Linked DNA regions of Homo sapiens: all the other regions are linked to region 1. Evidence: promoter capture Hi-C in 16 types of primary human blood cells and fetal thymus (Javierre and others, 2016). All regions are on one chromosome and are shown on one strand. Each heading gives the region's core, a stretch centred on a gene start or on the middle of the fragment in contact. The rest is flanking DNA. Distances are from core to core; before and after follow the strand shown. Region 1 holds the start of SHISA2 (shisa family member 2). Region 2 overlaps ATP8A2 (ATPase phospholipid transporting 8A2). Region 3 overlaps ATP8A2 (ATPase phospholipid transporting 8A2). Region 4 overlaps ATP8A2 (ATPase phospholipid transporting 8A2). Region 5 overlaps ATP8A2 (ATPase phospholipid transporting 8A2).

The links. Contacts are between HindIII fragments. The CHiCAGO score rates a contact against its expected background, and 5 or more counts as called.
Region 2: a contact is called between a fragment that was not itself captured here and the fragment with the promoter of SHISA2 in region 1, in 4 of 17 cell types (activated CD4 T cells, non-activated CD4 T cells, fetal thymus and 1 more). The highest score is 6.6, in activated CD4 T cells.
Region 3: a fragment that was not itself captured here is called in contact with the fragment with the promoter of SHISA2 in region 1 in 5 of 17 cell types (activated CD4 T cells, naive CD4 T cells, non-activated CD4 T cells and 2 more); the score reaches 9.2 in activated CD4 T cells.
Region 4: a contact is called between a fragment that was not itself captured here and the fragment with the promoter of SHISA2 in region 1, in 6 of 17 cell types (activated CD4 T cells, naive CD4 T cells, total CD4 T cells and 3 more). The highest score is 7.2, in activated CD4 T cells.
Region 5: a contact is called between a fragment that was not itself captured here and the fragment with the promoter of SHISA2 in region 1, in 7 of 17 cell types (activated CD4 T cells, fetal thymus, naive CD4 T cells and 4 more). The highest score is 11.3, in activated CD4 T cells.

The regions. Positions count from the first base shown.
Region 1 is chr13:26,050,766-26,054,477 of GRCh38, forward strand. It overlaps SHISA2 (shisa family member 2), which reads right to left and starts at 1,251. Exons shown (of 2, transcript NM_001007538.2): 1 at 1-1,251. The coding sequence starts at 210. LINC00415 (long intergenic non-protein coding RNA 415) reads right to left here. Exons shown (of 2, transcript NR_146971.1): 2 at 1,511-1,907. The HindIII fragment of the contact is 15,847 bases long and covers 1-3,712 here.
Region 2 is chr13:25,747,242-25,751,340 of GRCh38, forward strand. All of the region lies in intron 25 of ATP8A2 (ATPase phospholipid transporting 8A2), which reads left to right. Among named protein-coding and RNA genes, the nearest start is that of SHISA2, 300 kb to the right of the region's middle. The HindIII fragment of the contact is 3,796 bases long and covers 1-3,491 here.
Region 3 is chr13:25,713,635-25,717,390 of GRCh38, forward strand. All of the region lies in intron 25 of ATP8A2 (ATPase phospholipid transporting 8A2), which reads left to right. Among named protein-coding and RNA genes, the nearest start is that of SHISA2, 340 kb to the right of the region's middle. The HindIII fragment of the contact is 4,796 bases long and covers 1-3,756 here.
Region 4 is chr13:25,791,179-25,794,862 of GRCh38, forward strand. The region is part of intron 27 of ATP8A2 (ATPase phospholipid transporting 8A2); the gene reads left to right. Among named protein-coding and RNA genes, the nearest start is that of SHISA2, 260 kb to the right of the region's middle. The HindIII fragment of the contact is 3,224 bases long and covers 696-3,684 here.
Region 5 is chr13:25,729,551-25,733,398 of GRCh38, forward strand. The region is part of intron 25 of ATP8A2 (ATPase phospholipid transporting 8A2); the gene reads left to right. Among named protein-coding and RNA genes, the nearest start is that of SHISA2, 320 kb to the right of the region's middle. The HindIII fragment of the contact is 1,175 bases long and covers 1,168-2,342 here.

The DNA.
Region 1 (3,712 bases), core at 1-2,500:
GCAGCTGCCGCAGCAGATGGTGGCGTCGCCGCCGTCGAAGCGCTCGGGACACTGGAAGCCGATGCGCCAGACGCCCTGCGCGTCCAGCCAGCCGTGGCAGTACTCGCCGCTGGCCCTCGCCCCCGCCGCCAGCAGCGCAGCCAGCAGCAGCTGCAGGAGCGAAGCGGCGTTCCAGGATGAGGAGACGGACGAGCGGCGAGCGCCCCACATGGCACCACCCTGGGCGCGGACAGCGCGTCTCCAGAGAGCGCAGGACGGTCTCCGAGAAGTCGTGGCCCCGGCGACCCCCGGGCCTCGTCACTGACTGTCCCGCGGCGCTTTCCGCGCGGGCCACTCCCCTCTGCCGCGACGCCCAGGAGGCGACGACGCCGGGCCCTAGGTCCAGGAGCTCCTAAGCCATCCCCGTCCTCAGCCGGTGGCCCGGTCCCCTTAGGGACTGCCTTATGAGTTGCACTCGCTGATGGAAATCTCGGGATGCAGTCAGAAGGCCCCCGGGGCTGTCGTCCGGAAGCCTCTGGAGGTTTCACTGGCAACCGGACCCTCCCTGAGCATCCCCGAAGGGATGCTCACTCGAGCCGAATGACCGCTGGGCGCGCCGCCGCGGACCTGGAGCCAGGGCTCTGCGCAGGGTTTAAGCCTCAGGGTCCCGCGCGCGAATCAGGGCCCGTCTCCCCTCCTTTATTCCCTCCTCGGGCGGGTAGAAGGGGCGAAGGCGGGCAGTGCACGCAAGGCTCTGGGCAGCAAGTGACGCAGCCGGCCGCGCTCAGCCTCCTCTGCCCCGAACTTGGTCCGCATGGCTCCGGCCGGGCCGCCCGGGCAGCCCACGGGGGTGCAGCCCCGACGCTCCACTCGGCGGGGCCGACGGCCAATCTTCCCAGCACGTCGCCGAGGGAGCGCTCCTGACCCCGGGAACGTCCAGGACGCAGGCGAGGGTCCTGCGCGCCCCCAGCCGCAGTCCCGGGAGCCTGCCCAGCTGGCGGCGGCCGCGGCTGCTGCTGGGCGCGGATCCAGGCGGGCGGCTCGCCCCGGTTCCCCTTCTCCGCCTCCCCGGCTGCAGCGCGGTCCCACAGGAGCCCGGCAGCCTCCGGCCGGCTCTCCCTCTCCCGGTCGCTGCCTCGCCCTCGGGAGGTGTGCGCACCGATGGAAGCCTCCCACGGAAGTTTCTTTCCTCCGGGCTACGGGAGAAGCCGAGCGCAGCAGCCGCCCACAGCCTCGCCTCGCCCCGCCCGGCGCCAGACCAGCTCCGACTCCGCTCGCTGCCGCGCTGAGCCGCGCTCTTATAGAGGCCGGCGGCTCCCCGGCGCGCATGCGCGCTGCGCGGCTCCCCCCCACCCCCGACCTCAGGGACGCCCGCGGGCGCCGGGCAGCCCCTCACTTTCCTACCCCGGGCAAGGAGAAAGGTGTGGCCAAGGGCGGGGTCTGCCTGCTGGAATAGGCGCGGGAGGAAACCCAACCTAAGCAATCCAGGCCTCGCTAACACAAATAACAATAATAACGGAAGAAACTCAACTTGCTTTGTGAAGATCTTTGGCATTCAACATTCGGTTCGATTCTGCAAACTTCTCAAGGGATTATGATTACTTTCCACTCTGCAGATCATAAAATCGCCACTCAGATGAACTCTCTCGGCTTCCAGCAGCTGATGTCCTGGCCACGGTTGGTCCCAGGCCCTGTGCAGGAAGAGCACCGATGTTTGTGGCAGGGTTCACACGCCTAGGGCTGTGTTTGGTGGACTGGAGGCCTCCACCACAAGGTGGAACGGAGAGAGTTCAGCAAAGATGTCACACATTCGGCCACGGTGTGGATGATCTGTGTCCCTTTTTCTTTCTATATTTGGGTGTGGTGATTTATCGGATTCCAGCAGGAAAGTGCCTCCGTCCAACATGTGGCCTTAGTGGTTTAGACAGCTGCAGTCAGGAAGAAAACAAGGTTCAGACAGACCAGAAATTCAGCTTTGATGAAGGAGAAATTAATAGCTTCTCTCTTGCAGAAGCTGGAACAACAGGTGCTGATGTTATTAAAGCAGCAGTGCTTATTTTTAAAGGAACGAATGCCCCTTCCCACACCGTCTGGGAGTCAGCAGACCTGAATTCTAGACCCAGCCCTACTAGCAGGGAATCACTGCGTTTTTCTGGTCTCAGTTTCTTCATCTATAAAGTGGAGCATAGGATGTGACGATCACTAAGGTCCCTTTCAAGTCCATGACTTCAGAACACAGGCAGTTTTATTCACAGCAAAGACACTCAGGTTCAAGCAGCCATTGGATGCTTGTGTATGCCTGGTTAATGTGAAGATTCAGACATTGTTGATTATTCTTCCACTTGCCCCAACAATGTCAAATCCAAGAAAAAAAACCCTACCCTATGTCCCTGCTCCCCAACACACACCTTATTCTTTTCACTAAACCTCTCTCCAAGCATTGCACTTTGTTTTCTTGCAGTTTTTTGGTTGTGTATCGTTTTAAGCTACACAAAATTATATACTTTAAATGCACTATTCACCAAATGTCTTAAGCTAGTAAGCTAAAAAAAATTTCAATGTCAAGAAATCATTCATTCAAGAAATACACGCCATGCACTTACAGTGTACTGTGCTCTGTGCTGGGTACTGGGACTCATCAAGAAGCCAGACAGCATGGCCATTTCCTTCAAATAGGGCCTAAAGTCTCCAGGGTAAAATACAGAAATCAGACAAAAAGACAAAGAACTGAATAAGCAAAGAGAATGCAAGTATGATCAAAGCTCTTACCCACAATGAGAACAGCATCAATTTAAGCACATAATCTAGGTTAGGGTGGGGAAGGAGGTCAGAAAAATCATCAAAGGAGTAACACTTAAAAAGAGACCAGAAGAAGCCAAGGGAAGATTGAGTTTTTCAGAATGAGTCATTTTCTTAGAAGACACCATTAGCCAACATTTATTGAGAGCTTACTATGGGCTAGGCACCACGCTAAGAATTTCATGTGCATGGTTTCATTTAATCCTCACATCAGCCCTATAAATAAGACAGTATTACTATCCTCATTTTACTGGTGAGGATACTTGCTCAATCCCTAAAGATAGAGAGCGTCGGTTTGCCTGGACTGCACCCAATTCTTCCTGACTCCAAACCCCACTCACCGCACTGCTGATCACCACAGCCGCCACTACAGAAAGCCCAGGATTGATTAACTGGGAGTCCTGTACAGATCATGAGATGCTCCTATGGCAGCACGAGTTGATTTGGGTAGTGTTCAGAGGGTGAATACTTTCAATTTTGCCATTTGGAAAAACAATTAATGCGAGAGAATTGTACTTATTGTTCTATTTAGAATTGTATTATTTCAGACAGTACCTATGCCTATAACCTCCTTCCAGGATCCACTTATCCTACTCACCAAAACATCCACAATTTGTCAGAGTTTATTTATGAAGAAAAAAAATTGTTTAACATTTCATATTGGAATTGATTTGGTGACTGGATAGTGCCACCTTTAAAACACAATGTTTTTGCCAAATAGTCTACAATTTAATCTATAATTGGTGAACTTAGAAGTATGGCGCTCTGAGCAAATTCGTCTTTTTTTTTTTTTTTAATTACTGTGTTTCTTTTCTTCCTTAAAAGTTAAGGAGAGGCCCTTTCATAGTTACTTTACGTAGTGGTTGACTGTCTTCAATGCTGAAAGGTCCTTTATGTCACTTTGTCTCTCTTGTATTATCGTTTCTTTGTGTAT
Region 2 (4,099 bases), core at 344-2,843, 300 kb before region 1:
GTGCCTGTTAGAGCCATAGCGCTTGAGCAGGCAAACAGGCCTCATCTGCCGTGCTCCTTGGGCTCTCATCTTCATAAGGAGGACAGTATTGTGGGAAGGTTAGTAGCGAAGTCAGTTTTCAGTGTCGCATTTCCAAATTTTTGTGGTCTTTCCACATAAGAGTTTGAAAATATAAAGGGCTTCAATTCGAACTGTTTGGCAGATGTAGCAAAAGGTATCCTGTGGGTCCTTTTATTCATGTTTGTTTCATGTCTTCCACATACCTGATAACTCTTACAGAACAGTACGTGCTGGAGTGGAGGAGGTAAGCTCAGTCATGGAGGAGGGGTTAGACACGTGGAGGTGTGCTTAAGTAGACCAAAAGCTCTGCAAGGGGTTTAGCATCGCCTGGGGATACAATGCGTGGGGAGGGGTTTGTTTAGGGAAGAATTTCAGGATGTCAGGATGTGTGCTTTATAGATAACAATTTCATTTAACCTTTAAAATCCCCCGAAGTATGGATCAGCTCCATTTTACAGATTAGGACAGAGTTGCAGTGAGTAGCCCAAAGACATGCCAACACATTGACTAAAATAACATTGAATCACCAAGAAATGTTCTTCAGGGATGTAAAATGCACCAAGTTTGACTTTCCTAAGCTGACGTTTTTAGCTGGCTTTGTTCAGATATTTTTCTACAAGTATATAAGTTTTGTTTTATTACAAAGACATTTATTGGGTTTTAAAAATTCATTCAGCCAATCATTCAGAAAATCTATAAGGGTTAACTACTGACATTTGTAGTTCATTCTGATTTAGGAATCACCATATGGTTTAAATTCCAATTTGAGAAAAAAATTACTAAGTAGAGATATATTTGTATCATCATATTTGTTTAAGCTCTGGGTTTCCAAAACAGTGTATATAGATAGTATTGGACATTGTGAATGGGCTAGTTTAAATTAAGAACAATTTCACTCATAGCAGAAAAATTATTTTTCGATGAAAGGAGATGATAGGATTTTCCCCCCATGCTGTTTCATGTTGAAGATATTTCAGCAAATTGGTCAGAGTTCTGCCAAAGTATTTTGAATGTTCTTTAGAAGTGTTTGGAATGACCTGATTTTTCTCCTCAGGACACATCTGAATTTTCTTAGGCTTTTGGAACTCTTTTTTTGTTTTAAATGTTACATAAGCTCTTTGGTTCGAGCATTGAATGACATGTTATGACATTTAAGGGGAAAAAATTTTATAAGCATTAATCAATGTAAGATATTTGTTGCTTTTTCATTCGACCCCATCCAGCTTTCATCCTGATGCACACCATACTGGAGGCATGGCTGCTTGTTTAATTGTTTAGTGCAGAACGCGGTTTGATCTCTTTCTTGTGCTTTCAGTGCTGGTAAATTAATCAAAAGAAGTTACTGCTCTGCTGGGCATTAGCATGGGTTTAGATGTTTCTGCTTCAGGGCCTGTTCATCAACTAAAATGCTTTTAAGCCCCAAATGGAGAGTAAACAGCGTTGCTGCGGCCACTTTGAGGTGAGCCATTACTTGTGACCCGCTTACATTTGGGAAGGGGCCTGTTTGTATTAGCAGTTATTCTGGTTTGGGTTATAGCATTTTCAAAATGTTTTTTCTCCTTTTTATTTTAGTGTTTTTAGTATTTGTAAAGAGTGCCCCCCATCACCACCATGTATATACACATAGGCATTTCAATAACAGTATGTGGAGATTAAAATCAGTGGACATTTCTATGAAGTTTGAAAGGTGAAATGTGTATCTTCACCATGGCTTGTAGTGAGAGGACAGTGAAATTATAATGCCAATTGAGATAGCAGATAGCAGAATAGTTTTGACTAACATGAAATTGTGGATCCTTAGGTTGTTTTTCTGTCTTCCGTGAAATAAAAGTTGACACTTTCTAACTCTTGGCAGCAGGTGGGCCAGGCATTTGGGAGGCACTGCAGACGCTGAAGAGAACAGACCTTTGCCTTGCAGGAATCAGTCCTTCCAGGAAGACAGGCCTGGAAATGGTGATTTCTGGGCATGGGCTGAGTATTCTGATGGGAAGAGAGTGGAGGAGGGGGAAGTGAAGCTGGCAGAGGGGAAGGAGGGCCTGACGGAGATGGGAGAAGCATCAGAGGACCCCGCCAGGAAGGAGACGACACTGGAGGTGGTCTTCAGGATAGAGCTGAAGTTAGCCGAGGGGAGTCCAGATGCGAGGGAGTTTGCGGTGCAGGTTTTGTCTGGAGAAAAGCAGAGCAGTGGGAATGTGGGTGAGGAGGGGGTGTAGGCAGCAGGGAATCATGACGCAGGCATTGTCACATCGATGTCAGAGCAGGAGGCTGTGCTCGGTGGGGGCAGTCAGAAAGCCCCTTGAGTGAGCAGCTACAGAGCTTAGGCTGTTCCTGGGGCAAGGGAGATGGGAGGAATTTAAGAAAGAGTGGGACAGCTTTGCCTTAGGAGCAGACCAAGGCTGCGGTGTAGACAGGCAGCAGCCAACTCATGTTCCTTCCGATTTTCTTTAAAACTGGAAAGGAAGTTAAAATGGGACATTCTGGTCACTATAGAGTAGAATGAATGCCTGATGATAACTGTCACATTGTCTCTTTAGTTTCTAATTGTTGACATCTAAGTTTGTTTTTAAAATAATTATTTGGCCAGGCATGGTGGCACGTACCACTAGTCCTGGCTACTAAGGAGGCTGAGATGGGGGATTGCTTCAGCCCAGGAGTTTGAGTCCAGCCTGGGCAACATAGCAAGACCACATCTCTAAAAAATAAAACAAAACAAAACAAAAAAACGAAGAAGAAGAATTATTTGCATGTATGTGAGCTCCTGTTTGTATACGAAACAACCAAGTTCATCTTTAGAAATCATCTGATTGTCTCAATATTTATTTACTTATTTGTGTCCCTCTAAAGCCACAGTAAGGAGAACTTCGGTGAAGTCCTCCCTGAAGGGTCACTGGTCCAGTTCGTGTGGAAGACAGGCCGGTGTCCAGAAAGCAGCTCCTGACCCAGGCAGAGCAGGCTGCATTTCTCAGAGTAGTCGCTAGAGTTTTCAGGAGACCAAATAAAATAGTACACATCTGTGTGTAGTTACCAAAGCCAGGAACACGGGCCCTAACTGTGGGCAGTTTCCCTCTGCTAGTGCCCCCTCTTCCTTGGTTACTCTCATCTGTCTCTAGTTTTGGGCCATACACTGTGCCCACCCCCACACTGAAGCAGCCTCCCTCCCCACAGCTATCCCCCCGATTCTGACTCCCACCTGCTTCCATGTTGCTCTGCCCGGCTCCCATTCCGAAGGCCGGTGGTTTCAGCCCAGCTTTGGGAGCACCGTAGATACTTTCAGTTCAGCAGGGCCCTTCGCCCCACCACGTGATGGGATTCTAGAAATGAGTGTGTTCCAGTAATAGGGAGGAAGTGTGGGGAGCCTGGGGGCCCTGTCGGCAGGTACCTCATATGTGTAGTTTTGGCATCGAGTTTATACGAGCACATGGGCATCAAAAAGCTTGCGAAGAAAAGTCCTCTTCTGCTCGATGTATACAAAACTTCTGTTTTGAAAGAGTTGCTTGGGGAAAAAAAAAAGGAATCTTTTTGGAATTACACGTGTAGTTCACTAAAGTATTCCTAGTGACAACATAGCCATGTTTAAAGCCTGAGATTGTGTTGTTCTCTGTCCAGGGTCCAACAGGGAACTGAAATCTTGGAGGTTTTCAGCACCACAGTGTATCAGAGCACTCACAGAGAGCTTGGGAGTCTCAATGACAAAGGCGCCCGTGGGCTCACAGCTAGTACTGCGTCTTTGGTGGACAAAAGCTCCATTTTCCTGATAAAATTTAGCTTACTGTGCAAATGTGATTTATTTGGTGGGTTTCCTGATTCTCCTACAAGGAGATTCTCTGTGGTTATTTGAAAGTAACTAAGTCAACCTCCCATACCTTGGCTTACTTTGAATTCAACCTCGTCAACAGATGCCCTGAGGGCCCCAGACTGTAATAAGCAGCTCTGCTACAGTGCCTACCAGAAGGGTAAAGGCACAGTGCAAAGAAATGGCAACATCTTGTTTTCTAGGACTTCTTCAAATACCTTGTACTTGGAAAGTTATGATGGAAAT
Region 3 (3,756 bases), core at 201-2,700, 340 kb before region 1:
AATTCACAAGTCTCCTAAGGATTATTTCAAATGCAGGTCACTTCGTGTTCTTGAGATGACTTTGAAATCCATCTGTGTGTGTGCTGAATGAATATTGAGCATATGTGTCGCAAATATGTTTCCTGACAAACAACGTGCCATGTTCTGGGTCCTGGGGAGCTAGCAGCTCCCCAGGGTAGCTAGCAGCTACCGTGGTGGACAAGATCAGCACAGCCCAGCACAACCCCTGCCTCTGTGAGACTCAGGGCCTGGGAGAAGAGCTGGCCAGTAAAAATTACGTAGACTGTACAGTTATGAATTAGATGCTTGGTCTCTTGTATTTCAGCAATTAGATGCCTTTGATCTTAGGTACGTTGAATTCTTAAATTTATTAGCTTCTCTAATGCTGTAGGCTGATATAGATTTCTGTGGCTATCCTTAACTATCAGCTTTGATTAACCCAGAGTTTGGTGTTCAAAAAGAAGCTGTATCCCTCTGCTAAAAGAAAGAAAGGAAGGAAGGAAGGAAGGAAGGAGGGAGGGAAGGAAGAAAGGAAGAAAACCTTCTGGTGACCTCTCAGAATTAAATTTAAAAACCTAGTGGGATGCTGCTTCTCCCTTGCTTTCTGTGTCCCGGCCACATTGGACTCCTTTCTGTTCCTTTGGCTCTCAAAGCAGGCTTTGCCCCAGGACTATAACAGGATTTTGCCCCACTGACACATGGCAAACTCACCTGATTCAGGTCTTTGCTCAAATGTCACCCTCTCAGCTCAAGGCAGGGTACCTTGAGTACTCTGGCTCTGTTAGTGCCACTTTCCATAGCTTTATTTTGCTTGATAGCATTTACCACTACCTGACATACTATTATACTTTTGCCTAATTATTGATAATCTGTCTCCACCCAACAGAATGTTTGTTTCATTAGAGCAGAGATTGTGTCTCCTTAGCCTTCTCTTCCATCCTCAGCACTGGAAATGACACGAGACACGTAATGAACACTCAATAAATATTGGTGAATGAATGAATGATGTGATAGGCTAACCAAACCTTCACTTTCTTGGAGGCAGCCTACTCCCTTCTCATGACAGTTGCTGAAGTTATGCTGAGAACAGTGGTGATTGTAACTATGGAAAATGTTTAGGGTGTCAGGGTCAACTTTTTTCTCCTTTGGTTATTTGTCCAATGCAGGGCACCTGCTTAGCTACTTTTATCTCCATGTTCTTGGCTATCTACTTGTAGGAAATAGATACCCATGTAAGAGAATGCAAAAGTCTCTTGGAGGAACCAAGGAGCCTTATGTATCCAAGTTAGCATGTACTGAGTGCAGGGTGCTCTTAAGATCTCTGCTTGGACACTAGAAATAGAAAAAAATATGTATGAAGAAGTTTGGATAAATGCTTCATTTGAAAGTTATATACCTTAGTATTTGCTTTCCCATTCTCATGCCACTTATGAAGGGTGAAGTTGGCTTCATTGACAGCTAATACTGTTGAAGTCTATTGTAAAATCAGTTCATTAGGTTAGTGTCTATTGAGCAACTACTATGTGTATGTGTTGTGTTGGGAGTAGTGCAAGATGAGGCTGGAGGAGAAAACTGGGGCCGAATCACCCAGGTCTGCAAGTCTCATTGGAACTTGGACTTGCTCCTCAGTGCAATGTGAAACCTTTGAAAAATTTTAGCAAAGGAATGATGTGGTCAGATTTGTATTTTTAAAATAACAGCTTTATTGAAATATTAGCATACCATGTAATTCACACATTTGAAGTATACAATTCAATCAAATTAGTATACTCATACAGCAGTATAACTATCACTACTACATTCCATTTTAGAACATTTCATCATCCCCAAAAAGAAACCCTGTACCAATTAGTCATTCCCAATGTCTCTCCAGTTCCCCAGCCCAAGGCAACCACTTATTTACTTTCTGTCTCTATAGATTTACCTGTTCTGGACATTGCTTTGCAACTGGCTTTTCCCACTTACTGTAAAGTCTTCAAAGGGTCATTCATGTCGTAGCATTTCAATTCTTTTTATTGCCAAAAAATATTTCATTGTATAGATATATCACATGTAGTTTATTCATCACTTGGCGGATAGTTAGGTTGTTTTTACTTCTTGGCTACTATGAATTATACTTCTATAAACATTCATCTACAAATTTTTGTGTGGACATATGTTTTCATTTCTCTTGGGTATATACCTAGGAGTGGAATTGCTGGGGTATATGGTCACTCTATGGTTAACCTTCTAAAACAGAACTGCCAGACTGTTTTTCTAAGTGGCTACACCACTTTACATTTCATACATTACACCCCATACATTTCCACTAGCAATGTGTGAGGGTCCCAGTTCCACCACATCCTTGCCAAAACTTTCCTTTTTTAAGTCATAGCCATCCTAGTGGGTATAAAGTGGTATTTCACTGTGGTTTTGATTTGCATTTCCCTGATGATTAAAGATGTTGAACAACTTTTCATGTGTTTGTTAGCTACAAATAACCAGAATATCTTCCTTGGGAAATATCTGTTCAAATCCTTTGCCCGTTTTTAAATTGGGTTGCTTGTCTTTTATCACTGAGTTGTAGCAATTCTTTATATAGTCTTAATGTCAGTATCTTATCAGATACATGATTTGCAAAAAATTTTTTCTAATTCATTGGGCTGTCTTTTCACTTGATGGTATTGTTTGTAGCACAGAAATTTTAAATTTTGATGAAGCCCAGTTTATCTACTTTTTTTTGTTGTTGCTTATGGGGTCATATCTAAGAAGCCATTGTCTAATCTGAGATCATGAAGATTTACTCCTATGTTTTCCCTTACAAGTTTTATAGCTTGGCTCTTACCTGTAGTCTTTCATCTCCTTTTAGTTAGTTTTTGTATATGTTACAAGATAAAGGTCCAGTTTCATGCTTTTGCACATGGATATTCAGTTTTTCCAGCACCATTTGTTGAAGAGACAGTCTTTTCCTTTTTGAGTGGTCTTGGCCAGATGTATATTTTTAAAAGATCACTGTCAGCAGGGTGTGAAGGGTTTAAAGGAGTAGCGATGAGAATAGAAGTGGGGAGATCAATTTGAAAAATATTTATGTAGCTCTTATTACGTGTAAAACATTGTTCCAGGCACTGGAACTATGATCATAAACAAGTCAGACATAGCCCTGGCCTCATGGAGCTTACATTCTGGCACTGAGGATGAGGGATACAAACCTAACAGGAAAGAGGAAAAAGAAGCAAATGCAGTGATGACAAGTTGTGAGAGAAGAAACAGTGATGTGCAGTGTATAAGTTATAGGACTACTGAATATATAAAGCATGAATTGCTTATTTAGTTTTTTCCTTTAATTTCAAAGGGCCAAACATACCGACTCAGAGGCAGGTTGGCTAGAGTGGAGTTAGGAAAATACTCTTTCTGGAAAGAAAGGTGACTTTAATCATTGCTGCCTATACATGCCACTATCACCAGTGAGTCTTCACTTAATGTGCATATCCACCTGCTGGCAGCATTGCCAGAGTGACTGTCTGAAAGAATGGCCGCTTGTTCATTCGTTCATTCATTCATCAGATTATGGTAGCATGGATTACAGAGGTGAAGAGAAATGAAGAGATTTGAGGGTGGTCTAGATGTAAAATTGGGAGGATTTGTAGTCACATATGAAAGGTAATAGTAAGGAAGAAGGAGCTATTGAGAATGGGATCAGGGATTTGGGATTTTGGTAGTTATGATAGCCATTGAGTGCTGAGAATGGGTTAGGCTCTCTATTGAGCTCTGTCCAGG
Region 4 (3,684 bases), core at 1,058-3,557, 260 kb before region 1:
TATACACCATGGGATACTATGCAGCCATAAAGAGAACGAGATCATGTCCTTTGCAAGACCATGGATGGAGCTGGAGGCCATTATCGTTGGCAAACTAACATAGGAACAGAAAACTAAATACCACATGTTCTCAGTTAGCAGGAGCTAAATGATAAGAACATACAGACACAAAGAAGGGAATAACACACACTGGGGCCTATTGGAGGGTGGAGGATGGGAGTAGGGAGAGGATCAGGAAAAATAACTAATGGGTACTAGGCTTAATACCTGGGTGATATAATCTGTACAACAAACCACCATGACACAAGTTTACCTATGTAACAAACCTGCACATGTATCCCCGAACTTAAACACACACACACATACACACACACACACACACACACACACACACACACTCCAGCTACTCCTACTAAGCAGTCCACTCTGCCTGGAAGTTGCTGGAAGGACTCCATGCGAAAGTGGTTTCTCTCCTCCCAGAACATGATTTTACTGGTTTCTTTCAAAGCCTATTCATCATCCTCCCTTCAGGACACTCTTAAAATTTGCCTTCTGTGGAGCTCTTTACCATAAGAACAAGCAACAATGACATGTTCCAGCCCATTAGTGTTAATATTTGTTGATCCGAAGATGGAAAATACATTTTACTAGACCCTTGTTTCCTTCTTGCTGCTGAGTATATTTTCAATCTATAAAGCTTAGATAAATTTCGTATATGCTCACCTTTTTTTGTGGGAGACTTGCAAGAGAAACCTACCCTAAAAGCTAACCTAGCCACCTTCTATTTGCAGAAATAAAGCAAAAATCATTTTAGTGTTGATTTTGATGTACCAGAACCTAAATTGCTTAAATTAAAAACTTTTTAGAGCAGTGTGTAGAATTCTATTTGTGTCCGTGAGTATGGCTAATAACTCCATTTTAAGAACCAGAAAAGGAAATAAAATAAGTTAACCATCTCCCTTGAGCTGCAAAAGTTGCTAATCAAAAACTTCATGTAAACAATGTACCGATATCAGACTCTGGTTATGATCTGTATACATTTAGTGTGCAATTCAAGTATAAAGGCTTTCATTTTTTGGCAGCCCAGATGCAAACAATAAAATAATCCTGCTTATTTCCTCTCAGCAGCAGGTTTTGTCATCCATATGTAACTGACCGAACAGTGTTTAGCCACAAACAGAAAACACTTTCTGCAGGTGGTTAGTTGTCTTTAATATGTCTCATCAAGCCTATCTGTGTGCTTCTGTGTGGGCTGCTGTGCTCTTCAAGGCCTAGGTCAAGTGCCTTGGCCAGTTAGTGGTTAGATAATTAATAGAGACTCACTAAGTATGTATTATTTACCGACTACCACTTTCCTGATTGCTTTGAAACTAATGAAATGAACAAAAAATGTAATTATGGTCCTTGAGGGAATTTATGATCTAGTTAGAAGGGTTAGGAAATACTTTGGGCCCAGACACAGTGGCTCACACCTGTAATCCCAGCTCTTTGGGAGGCTGAGGCAGGAGGATTGCTTCAGCCTAGGCGTTCAAGAGCAGTGTTGGCAACAAAGTGAGACCTCATCTCTACAAAAACTAAAAGAAAGAAAAAAAATAGCCGGGGGTGGTGGTATGGGCCTGTAGTCCTAGCTAGCTCCTTGGGAGGCTGAGGCAGGAAGACTGATTAAGCTCATGAGGTCGAGGCTGCAGTGAGCTATGATCACAGCACAACAATGAGACCCTGTCTCAAAAAAAAGAAAAGAAAAAGAGAGAGAGAGAAAGAAGAAAGGAAGGAAAGAAGGAAGGAAGGAGAGGGGAGGAGAGGAGAGGAGGGATAGGGGAGAGAGGGGAGGGCAGGAGAGAAGAGAGGAGAAGAGAGGAGAAGAGAAGAGAAGAGAAGAGCAAAACTTTGGAATTGTTTCATAGGAGTGGTACCTTTTCCCACACTGACTGTAAAAAGTTCAGAGAAACAAAGGGATTTTCACAGCAGTGCTTGCAATTCCAACATCTGCCTTGTGACTTTCAATTTTGAGTTAATATTTGAAACTGTCTTCGTTGCCTGCATAAAGTGATCAAGTGACCATCAGTACAAAGACTTTTTCACATACCTGTTTTAATTGCTCTGGAGAATGCCTGATTCTCTGAGTTATTGCCTAGAGGTTTTCAGAGTAAATTACAAGAGTACTACATAGACTTTATATTAAGTCGGGTCACCCCAAATATTTTATGAAAACCTGCCCAGCCATTTCTACATGACATGGTAACAAGCATAGAGATGAAAATTTTATTTATCTAGATTAGGCAAAATTCTCCTATACGCTATGTTTAATGCCATGGGTTGTCTATATTTTATCTTTATATTGTGCAAATGTGTGTATGTGTATTATACACACATGTATGTAGAAGTACATATGTGTGCACATATATGTGTATAATTGTATGTACACAAGTACATACATACAAATACTACATGTACTATCAGGCTTTCTCAGGGGAGACTTAGTGTTTTTTTTTATCTTTACTGGAAAAAACTGTTGTTGGTAATAGCAAAGACATTTTGTGTTAGCCATTAACGAGATAGCAGAGAAATCCTTTGCTATCTAATATGTCACGGTGAAGGCCACTGGTATGAGCTTATGTTGAAATTCAGGATTTTTCTGATGTCATGAGTGTACTCAGGTGACCACATTTTGAATCTTTTTACTTTTAAAAACAATTCCCCACCCCAGTTCTTTAGCTGAGATTGTCATTTGAAGACGTGTGCCCTGTTCATCCAGTTGCACATGACCAGAAGGCCCTGGAGAATGGTTTAAGCCATTTTGAAGAGCACAGACATGGGGGAGAAGGAGGTAATCGTCATCAATACATCATCCCTACCTCTTTCAAACTTCTGTATATTTTTCGTACTTGGTTGGTTTGTTTTTGAGATGGGGAGAAGACAGAGGGAGGACAGAGGCTCTCAAGGAGTTTGTGAGTTTAGAGCTGGCCTGATGGCCATGAGCAGCATGTTTTCCATCTTGAAGAAAGAAGAGGTGGGAATTCAGAATGGTGCAGCTGCCTTGGTAAAACCTTACGGTGGCTTTATTTCTACTTACCAAATACTAGAAACAACCTATATGTCCCTTGACTGAGAAGTGGATAACTGTGCAGTATACCTATGCAGTGGAATATTACTTAGCAACAAAAAGGAGCAATACACAGAATACAGTGCTTTGCTGTGCAAATGCATTGTGCTACATGAAAGAACCCAGACTCAAAAATGACACCCTTTCGTATGATTTTGTATAAATGCATGATTCCACTTATTTGACATTCTGAAAAAGACAAAAACTGTGGGGACCAAAATTAGATCTGTGGTTTCCAGGGTCTTTGGGTGGAGGAAAAGGGTGACTACAAAGGAGCACAAAGGGTTTGGGAGAGTGACAGAAATACTCGGTGTCTTGATTATGGTGGTTACACAAGGGTGCGCAGTTATCAAAACTCACAACTGTACATTAAAAAGGATGAATAATTATTGTATGCAAACTATATCTAAAAATAAATAAGAAACAGATATATATATTCCAGTAATTGCTTCTTGGTATTTGAATCAGGCCAAGGATAACATCTATCAGAAAGGTCTTTTATTGATATTGAAATTCTGCCCCAACGCATTCCCTCTCCTACACACACACACACACACACACACACACACACACACACACCT
Region 5 (3,848 bases), core at 505-3,004, 320 kb before region 1:
CCACGATGTCATTTATATGGACTGTGTCGCGACACGTGTGTCTTTTTCCTGGTTTGGTGTTGTTATTCCCCTGGCAAGGTGTGCATGAAGTCGGTCCTGCCCTACACCTGTTGGCTTGTTTTGTTTGACTTGTGTTTACACTCCTTTTTAAGATGACTTTGTTAAACTGAAAAAAAAAAGCTGAAATGTTGATCAGGTAGCAGATTTGCAGGAGACCTAGGTACTCATCACTCTAGCACTTCCTAAACTGTAGTTAAAGAAACATTGTTCGGGATGCTAAGTGTAACGTGGGGGAAAAAAATAGCTCTCTGTGCAAATAAATTTGTATAATTGTTAAATGTGATTGCTTTCCCTCTGAGTCTTTAATCTGATAATGTGCATTCTGCCAGAAGGGAATGTAGTATACTGCACCTCCCCAGCTTGTTTTTGTTCACATCTAACTTAATTTATTAGAAAGCAGCCTGGCGCAGTTGTGCATGCCTGTAATCCCAGGACTTTGGAGGCCGAGGTGGGCAGATTGCTTGAACCCAGGAGTTTGAGACCAGCGTGAACAATATGGTGTAACCCCATCTCTACAAAAAATACAAAAAATTAACCAGGCATGGTGCCGTGTGCCTGTGGTTCCAGCTACTCTGGAGGCTCAGTTGGGAGGATTGCCTGAACTCAGGTGGTTGAGGCTGCAAGTGAGCCGTGATCATGCCACTGCACTCCCGCCTGAGTGACAGAGTGAGACCCTGTCTCAACAACAACAACAACAAAATTATTAGAAAGCAAAAGTCTCTTTAAGACAGGTATGTCTTCAACTCTATCAAGTTGGCTTTTGTTTTGAAGAACAAAAGGGAATCATGGCTTGGCAGTTTCAGCTATGTGTGGGGACTACTTTCTATTACACTGGTCCTGCTTTTACCTCTGGTGTCTAAAATGTAATAAATATGTGAACTAGAGCTCATAGGGTAGCTTCAACTCTGCTTAGAGTTTATAGCTTCAAGTGGCATGATATCTGTCACACTCACAAGTAGTATCCATTGCTGATTTCTCTTTGTGGTTGAGCTTCTTTATTTTATTCTATATTCTTACTTTATAATTTTTCATGTATAATAGACCAAATGTGATTGCCATAAAGAAGGCCAAATGTAGAATCCATGCCCAGTTTGCTTATTCTGGAAAAGCTTACTATGTAAGCTGGGATTTGAGGAGTTCTTAGATTTTTATTATTGTTTGATTTTTTTTAAGGAAGGAATAGGCCAGGCATGAGTGGCTCACACCTGTAATCCTAGCACTTTGGGAGGCCAAGACAGGAGAATTACTTGAGACCAGGAGTTGGAGACCAGCCTGGGAAACAAAGTGAGACCTGTCTCTACAAAAACTCAAAAAATTAGCCAGGTTGGCGGCACATACCTGTGGTCCCAGCCGCACGAGAGACTGAGACAGGAGGATCACTTGAACCTGGGTTGTTGAAGCTGTAGTGAGCCATGTTCCTCCCACTACACTCCAGCCAGGTCGCAAAAAAGAAGGAGAGGGGAGGAAAAGAAAAGAAAGGAGAAAGAAAGAGAGAGAGAGGGAAAGGGAAAAGAAAAGAGAGAGAGAGAGAGAAATAAAAGAAAGAAAGAGAAAGAAGGAAGGAAAGAAAGAAAAGACCGGAAGGAGAGAGAAAGAGAGAAAGAGAAAGAAGAAAGAAGGAAAGAGAGAGAGAGGAAGGAAGGAAGGAAGGAAGCGGGAGGAAGAAAAAGAAAGAAAGAGAGAGAGAAAGAAAGAAAAGACCGGAAGGAGAGAGAAAGAGAGAAAGGGAAAGAAGAAAGAAGGAAAGAGAGAGAGGAAGGAAGGAAGAGGGAGGAAGAAAAAGGAAGAAAGAGAAAGAAAGAGAGAGGTGGGAATAAAGATAAGGATTAAAGCCATAACAATTAAAATATTGACCAATTGAACTCTCGTGCCTGCTATTTTTTCAATTCTCTTCCCAAACACTTTTGGCCAAAGAATGCTTTTTATTTGGGGTAAATGTTGTCCAGCCTTAAATTTTCATTTTTCTGGGTAAGGGTACTAAATCCTAGAGTGCTGATATACGATATTTAGGCCTCACCCCATTGGTAAGTGGAATGTGCCTGTTGATGTAATCAAATTCACAGAATGTGGAATATAACACCCTCTTGGTTAAAAAAATAAGCAGAGGGATTTCTGGCAGAATCCAACTAACACTCGCAGAAATGAAGCACATGAGGTGACGAATACAAATGGGTCACTTAGAACTAGGAAAATCCATTGTAACAGGGCACAGAACTTGTTCTTTTTAAGCAAGAGTCTTGCTAACATCCACATTTATTTCATTCATATTGAAGGTCTTCGAAAGCTTAAGCTCTGAAAATGGAAGTGGTTGATTTGAAGATGATAAATGGAAACTGGGAAATTAGACTGCTTCCATAGGTGGGCAGTGTGTCCTCTTTTTCAGGACTCCGGGGTCCCTGAATTGTGAGTTTTCCCTCACAGCCTCTCCACATTCTCTGTGCTGTTCACCTCCCACCCACTGCTCTGTCTTCCCTGTGTTAGTGAAAAATCAAGCTTTTCCCTCCCTAGCCCAGAGAGCTGAGCTTTTCCCTGCTTTACTACTGTGTTTAGGAAAAGGAGGCAGCTTTTTCCTAAAAAGCAGTGTTTGGAAGTTGGAGGCACGTATGATGCTTTCTGGGCTGTTATCTCCAATATCCTTGCTAGATGAGCAGCCTCGCATGTTGGGAAAGAATCTGTACCAGAATTCGGAATATGGGGCTTGTGGCCACGTAGCAATGAGGTCACTGACCAGCTACAATCCCTGGAGCAAACCATTCACACTGCAGTCCTCTGTTTCCTGCTGGTGATATTCGAGGTAGTGGCCATGTGAGCTCCAAGCTATGATTTGTTGTTGTTCTGAAATTCTATGTATTATTTAAATTATAATACCTCAGATAAATAAATGAAACATCTCCTGAATTTATTCTTAATATGTAATTCATGGCCAAGAATATTAACTGATGAAGTGAATCATTTAAAGAAGGACTTTGTAATTTTTCTGTGGGATTGTATTTCACCAGAAGTGCTTCAGTTCCGTTGAGTCCTGTGTGATGTACTTCAGCTTGTCTGTGAGCTGAGCTGGTCTAACACGCTAAGTGATAACAGAATGGATTCTGTGTTTTATGAGTCAGTCAGCCAGATCTCAAAGGGATAACAATTAGGAAAAATATATATAATTTATCCCAGTAAAAGAACTAGCCTATTGCTGAAAAAAAGTTGTACCCTGTATTATTGCTTTTTTTTTGTCCCACAGGTGTGAATAAACCTGGAAAGCATAAACATTTGGAAGTTATTGAAATTTATTGAAAATATAGTACAAAACTCCCACCCTTCCTTTGTTTCCACCCAAAATGTAGAATTATTATAGTTGGCTGCAGTTTTTCTTATATCTCAGTGGTGTAATTTTCCCACAAGTAAGAAAACTGAATGGGTAGTATCTAAGAATAAGAAGCTATTAAATAGCAATTTTACATGCCTTTATGATGAAATACTACAGAAGATGGGAACTGTGTGTCGTGAAGTCATGGAAGTCTTCAATGACTAATAAGGAAATAATCTGGCTGACAGCAGGTGTTCTGATTAACAGAGAAGTTATTTCATAGCATAATAAAGAATGGCATGAAGAATTATATTGTCAAAAAAACCTAGCCAGATTTTTTTGAGCAAAGAGGGGTATTTCCACCCCTGACTGCCCACTGTAAGAATAAGAGACGCTTATTGTAGGATTGGAAAACAGTGAAGGAAATAGAAACCGCTAATGGTATCACTCTCCTAAGGGGACTACTGTTATTTCCTCTTAGGCACTTTGT